Regions from separate parts of the Homo sapiens genome. Here region 2 is linked to region 1. Evidence: promoter capture Hi-C in human tissues and cell types (Jung and others, 2019). All regions are on one chromosome and are shown on one strand. The core of a region is centred on a gene start or on the middle of the fragment in contact, and the rest is flanking DNA. Distances in the headings are between cores, read along the strand shown.

Region 1 (3,366 bases), core at 568-3,067:
TGGGAGGCCGAGGTGAGCGGATCACTTGAGGTCAGGAGTTCAAGACCAGCCTGACCAACATGGCAAAACCCTGTTTCTACTAAAGATACAAAAATTACCCAGGCACGGTGGCGGGCGCCTGTAGTCACACCTACTCTGGAGGCTGAGCCAGGAGAATCACTTGAACCCGGGAGGCGGAGGTTGCAGTGAGCGGAGCTCGTGCCCCTGCACTCCAGCCTGGGCGAGAGTGAGACCCCGTCTCAAAAAAAACCCCCAAAAAACAAAATCAAAAAACAAAAACAAAAACAACCGTAAAAGTACTAAGTGCAATGTAGTGTCCTGTGTTGGATCTTGGAACAGAAAAAATGACACTAGTCGAAAAAATTGGTAAAATTGGAATAAAATCTGGAGTTTAGTAAATAAATAAGCTAACAACGCCGTTAAGTGTGACGTGTTTCCATACCATCGCTTTCCTACCATCCTAGCTTCCCTATCTACTGTAGGAATAGAGGATATGGTGTTCAAGGTGGGTGTTTTTCTCCGCCTCGATTGAAGAGCTTCGCGCTCTTTGGATTAACAGCCAGGTCATTCACAATTCAGTGTTCAGTTTTTCTATTGGGGTCCAGCGTCTCGGAGTAACATCCCTTTGTGTCATGGATACATCCAACTCTGGACTTCCCCATTAGATTCTGGCAAAAGCCCCACCAGAGCCCCCGCCAGAGCCAGAAGGCGGTCCCTCAGGTCAGGAAGGGGTTTTCCTGCCGCCGGAGCCGCGACCTCGGCTAGCGGTGGAGCGGGGCTTCGGCGGAGGGAGGTGCGGGGCCTCGGCGGAGGGAGGTGCCGGGGGCGCCGCCCACGGCCTCCTGGGCTCGGCGCGCGGGGCCGGGCTGCGGTTGGCCACAAGAGGCATCCATCTTCCCGGACCAGCCAGGCGTTTCCTAGCGGAGCAGGGGCGGGAGCTTGGACGGAGAAGGGCACAGGCCGGAGCGCGGTCCGCTCCCGCGAGCCTGGCCCCGCCTGGCGGAGCCCCGAGGAGCCACCGCCCGCAGATCGCTAGCCGGGCGCCCGCGAGGCGCGAGCCGTGTGCGCACCCTCAACTTTGCTGCCGCCGGGGGCGCGGCTCCCGCGTGCGTGTGCGAGTGTGCCTGTCACTAGCGGCCTCCTGGGGGCAGCAGCGGAAAGGGGGACGCAGAGAAAGGCAGCCTCGGCGCACCGCGGCCAGGGAGGCAGAGGCCCCTCGCGGCGCCGGCTCTGGAGACCTAAACTCCGCCGGGGCTGTGCCCAGGGCGCGTCTGAGCGTCGCCGCCTTCACCCTCTCAGCAGCAGCGGGGACTCGCGTCAGGACTGCGATTCCTTTCGCCTGCCGAGCTGTAGCGGCAGTGTCTGCGGGCAGAGGAGCGGCGGCCGTGGCAGCAGCATCCCCAGCCCGGGCGGGACCCTTGAGCGCCGGAGCCGACAGCTGGAGGCAGGAAGGGAGGGTTGTGGCGCCCGAGCTGGGCGCGTTCCCAGCGCCTGCCCTCCGCCGCTGGCCCTGTCCCGGGCGCCCGGTGCGGGTCTCGAACAATGGTGCGGAGCGCCGGCGCGAGCCCCGCGCCCGCCCAGCGGCCGTAGAGGAAGTGGCCGGGCTCCCGGCGAGGTGGGCAGGGAGACGTCCCCCGCCACTCGCTGGCTGGAGTTTGCCTGCGCGTCCGGCCTCTCCCCCGGGGATCCCCTGGGATTACCGACGGAGCTCAATTTCGAGAGTATGGTGCCAGCGCCCGGGCTAATCTAGTCCTCTCTACTCGCTCTTTTTCCCCTCCTCCTCCTACTTCTCCTCTCCCTCCTCCCTTCCCTCGGGTCGGCGCTGCCTCTGGATTGCCTGCGTGTGGGAGTACAACTCTGCCTCTCCAAGGAGAACGGGTTGTGACCACTGAACAAAACTTGCCCATTGAAAGCAAACCCGGAACAGCTGGATAATGTCCACCCCGAGCCGATTCAAGAAGGACAAAGAGATCATAGCCGAGTATGAAAGTCAAGTCAAAGGTAAGGATGGGAGCGGCTGCCTTGCTCCTTTTGTGTGCCTTCTTGTCATTGTGCTCGTGGAGTTGCGTATCTAACTTGGTGTCTGCGTGGGAGGAAGGTGGTGAGGGGACAGCTCGAGCCCTGTCTGAGCCACCTGGGCTTCCTACAAGCCAGTTAGTTCCCAGTTGCAATCCCAGTCCCGTCAAACCCACGGGGAGCTGGAAACTGGGTGACTTCCCCCGCCAGCTGCCAGCCCGCATCTCTAATGGGGAGAGAACTGGCTTTAACTTAACCACCTTCAGCTGGGCAACTTATGTGGGAAGCAGGCAGCAGTGGAGGATCCTGTCCAGCTATTATTATCACCATCATTATTCTTTTTAAATGGTAGGATTGTCACTACGTAATTTTTTTACGGAATGATTTTTGTAAAGTCTGTGAACCCCAAGCGGTCTACAGCCTCATTGAGTGCAGGCTATTTCAGATATTTACACCACTCACCTATTTACACCGCTCACAATTTATTAGGGCGAGACCCCTTTTATTAAATAGCTCCCTAAAAGCCTGGCAGTTAAACGAAGCAGTGACTAGTGGAATCTGACTCTTCCTTTATAATGGGCCAGAATTCATTGCCATCTTTCACACTCACATGGGAATATTGCTTTATCATTTTCTGGAAGCCACTTGCATGTAAAATGAAGGTTTGAATATTTGAGTAGTAGTTTCAGTCCATTTACATTGTCAACTAATGAAGGAAACCTAATTAAGGCTGATTATTTTTACTTTCTATGCCTTGTGATTAAAAATATATATATTTTCTCTCCAATACAAGTATTTTGTTTTGTTACTGAAGTGTTTCGTAAACATATGTGTTACTTGAATTTTTTCCTCCTCTTTCCTGAGGTCTCAGGAGTAGCTTTCCTGATTGAGACAATGGATGGAATGTTGGGACCGCCACTGTTCTTTGACACATTCAATGCAAAGTTCATAAAGATTGCTATGTATACACCTGTGTTTATCTATGCACAGTCTTATGAAAGGGCTACGGAGAGAGGCATTACTGTACTTCCCTTGAGCAAGGGAGGAGCAGCCTGAGTGTTCTTTTGTGTGGTCAAGTTGTAAAAATGCCTGGAGTCCTGTGAGAGGACCTGGTGGAGAAATCCTGTATCATCCAGTGTGAATACAGACCAACTCATTGTGGACACTGCAGACACAATATGCAAGATAACTTAGGTTATCTTTAGGAGGACCCCTATAATGGAGTTATCTATAGGCTGACCCCTATAATGTGTTCAGGAGACACAGATTTTTGTCTGCTTGGAATTGTGATAATTTATACTTACAGGAACTTGTTTCATTGCTATGGAAGTTGTGTTAGCAGATAAGTAA
Region 2 (3,366 bases), core at 276-2,775, 530 kb after region 1:
ACAAATATTACTGTTTTCCTTTCTTCCAGACATGTGGAATGCACACATGGTTGGATCACATTTTCCTGTCCCCTTTTAAGTTAGGCATGGCAATGTGCCTGACTCTGGCTAATAAAATGTGAAAAGTGGCATGTATCAGTTCTAGGTAGAAGCTTAAAAACCGGTACATAAATTTACTAAGTTAATTTCTCCCTGTCATGGTGAATAAGCAAACATGTGCTGAGATGGATGAGATGAAACCTCTTATACTAAGATGTGTGACTAAGTATCCCATATCTTGGGACTTTTTTTTTTTTTGAGATGGAGTCCTACTGTCTCCCAAGCTGGAGTACAGTGGCACAATCTCAGCTCACTGCAACCTCTGCCTCCCAGGTTCAAGAGATTCTCATGCCTCAGCCTCCCAAGTAACTGGGACTACAGGCATGTGCCAAGACACCCAGCTAATTTTTGTATCTTTTAGTAGAGACAGGGTTTCACCATGTTGGCCAGGCTAGTCTCAAACTCCTGGCCTCAAATGATCTGCCCACCTTGGCCTCCCAAATTGCTGTGATTACAGGCGTGGGCCACCACACCCAGCCCATATATTGGGACTTTTAAAAATGAACAGAACCTGGCTGGGCATGGTGGCTCACGCCTGTAATCCCAGCACTTTGGGAGGCTGAGGCAGGTGGATCACTTGAGGCCAGGAGTTTGAGACCAGTCTGGCCACCATAGTGAAATCCCGTCTCAGTTAAAAATACAAACATTAGCCGGGTGTGGTGGTGCGTGCCTGTAGTCCCAGCTACTCAGGAGGCTGAGGCAGGAGAATCACTTGAACCCAGGAGGCAGAGGTTGCAGTAAGCCAAGATTATGCCACTGCACTCCAGCCTGGGTGACAGGAATGAAACCCTGTCTCAAAAAAAAAAAAAAAAGTGAACAGAACCCCTTGCTAATCTGTGATAAATAAGTAGCTTGAATCCTGAATCAGACCTAAACCTCTGTTGTGTTGAAGCATTGAGACTTTGGGGCTATTTGTTAGTGCAGCTTAATCTGACCAATACACTGTCCTTACAATCACTGGGAATATAGTAGTGAATCAAATTGACAAGATGCCTGCCTTCATGAAGCTTCTTAAGACTTGAATGCAATTTCATTTTTTTTTTTTTTTGAGACGGAGTCTCGCTCTGTCTCCCAGGCTGGAGTGCAGTGGCGCATCTCTGCTCACTGCAAGCTCCGCCTCTCGGGTTCACGCCATTCTCCTGCCTCAGCCTCCTGCGTAGCTGGGACCACAGGTGCCCGCCACCATGCCCGGCTATTTTTTTGTATTTTTTTAGTAGAGACGGGATTTCACGGTGTTATCCAGGATGGTCTCAATCTCCTGACCTTGTGATCCGCCCACCTCGGCCTCCCAAAGTGCTGGGATTACAGGTGTGAGCCACCGCGCCCAGCCTGAATGCAATTTTCATACTATTCTATTCAAACAAATAATTTAGAAAAAGACAAATTGACTGATGTGAGTTTACCACTTCCTGCTGTCTCCCACAGTGAGAGCCTTAAAATGCTATAAAGTAGTCAAAATAAAGAAGAAAGCTGGAAAAGAAAAGAAGCATCTATAATATGGCCTCAGCTTACGTAACTCTTAATACCTGTCAAAACGCACGATATAAGCCGGGCGCAGTGGCTCACGCCTGTAATCCCAACACTTTGGGAGGCCGAGGTGGGCGGATCACAAGGTCAGGAGATCCAGACCATCCTGGCTAACACGGTGAAACCCCGTCTCCACTAAAAATACAAAAAAAAAAAAAAAAAAAAAAAAGTCTCCGGGCGTGATGGCGGACGGACGCCTGTAGTCCCAGCTACTCCGGAGGCTGAGGCAGGAGAATGGCGTGAACCCGGGAGGCGGAGCTTGCAGTGAGCCGAGATCGTGCCACTGCACTCCAGCCTGGGCGACAGAGCAAGACTCCGTCGCAAAAAAAAAAAAAAAAAAAAAAAAAAAAAACAAAACAAACAAAAAAAAACGCACAATGCAGCTAAACAACACAGGGATCATCTCACAATATGCACAAAGAAGCGTGTAGAGAGCTAAACATGAGCATCATGAGACCTATAAGATTTTATCCAGGCTCTGCCACCCACTGCCTGAGTAACGGCCAGTGTGATAACCTGTCAATTTCTGGGATCCCTCAACACTTGGATATAAGGAAATATCAACTCCTTCTCTAAGAGATAAGCTATATGATAGATCTGAGCATTAATTAATTAACTCATTCATTCTTCTAATCAGCAAATAGTTATTGACCGTCTACTAAGTGTCAGGGAATGTGAGGCACAGTGACACAGAGATGAACAAGAGAGGCAAGGTCCTACTCCCATGTAGCAGCTTACATTTACCATGGGAGATAGAGAACAGCAAATTGTTAAACAAGTTAATCTTATAAAATGCAAATAGTGATAACTACTTTGAAACAAACAGATGGGTAAGTGTGATGGGGGAATGGTACTTTTAGTTTGAGTGGTCAGAGAGGCATCCTCGTGGAAGTGATGCTGAGTTTGGGCTGAAATATGACTTACACAAAAGAACCAACCCCTAAGGATCTCGAGTGTTCTAGGTAGAAAGGCAAGTACAAAGGTCCTGAGGTATAGAAGGGCATAAAGAACGTGGGGAAGAGTGGTAGGAGATGAGTCAAAGAGACAGCAGGGTTAAATCATGCAGGCTTTTGTAAGCAATAAGGAGTTTGGAGGCTCATGGAGATTTTGAATCAGAAGCATGTTATAATTTAATTTATGATATATGTTTCAAAGATAACCACAATGTAACCACCCAACAGGTTCATGTTGCCTGCTGCCTAGACAAGGCCAATTTATCAAGACAGGGGAATTGCAATAGAGAAAGAGTAATTCATGCAGGGCCAGCTGTATGGGAGACTAGAGTTTTATTATTACTCAAAATAGTCTCCCTGAGAATTCGGGGATTAGAGTTTTTAAGGATAATTTTGGGTGGGGGCAGTGAGTCAGGAGTGTTGATTGGTTGGGTCAGAGATGAAATCATAGGGAGCCAAAGCTGTTCTTTTACCCTGAGTCAGTTCCTGGGTGGGGGCAATAAGATCAGACAACTCAGTTTATCCTGTCTGCGTGGTGCCAGCCAATTCATCAAGTGCAGAGTCTGCAAAATATCTCAAGCACTGATCTTAGATTTTACAGTAGTGATGTTATCTCCTGGAGCAATTTGAGGAGAGTCAGAATCTTGTAGCCTCCAGCTGCATGTCTCCTAAACCATAATTTCTAATCTTGTGGCTAATTTGTTAGTCCTACAATGGCAGTCTAGTTCTTAGGCAAGAAGCATGTTTGTTTTGGGAAAGGGCTGTTATTATCTTTGTTTTAAACTAT

The links. The method cuts DNA at HindIII sites, captures the fragments that hold promoters and counts their contacts. A contact is called where the count stands out against the background at its distance.
Region 2: a contact is called between a fragment that was not itself captured here and the fragment with the promoter of SRGAP1 in region 1, in 1 of the 25 tissues and cell types used here (dorsolateral prefrontal cortex).

What each region holds. Positions count from the first base shown.
Region 1 is chr12:63,842,883-63,846,248 of GRCh38, forward strand. SRGAP1 (SLIT-ROBO Rho GTPase activating protein 1) reads left to right here and starts at 1,818. Exons shown (of 22, transcript NM_020762.4): 1 at 1,818-2,001. The coding sequence starts at 1,935. RefSeq lists silencers at 751-1,170, 1,231-1,290, 1,401-1,660 and enhancers at 823-1,324, 1,325-1,824. The HindIII fragment of the contact is 18,473 bases long and covers 1-3,366 here.
Region 2 is chr12:64,378,157-64,381,522 of GRCh38, forward strand. The region is part of intron 1 of C12orf56 (chromosome 12 open reading frame 56); the gene reads right to left. Among named protein-coding and RNA genes, the nearest start is that of C12orf56, 11 kb to the right of the region's middle. The HindIII fragment of the contact is 5,937 bases long and covers 1-3,366 here.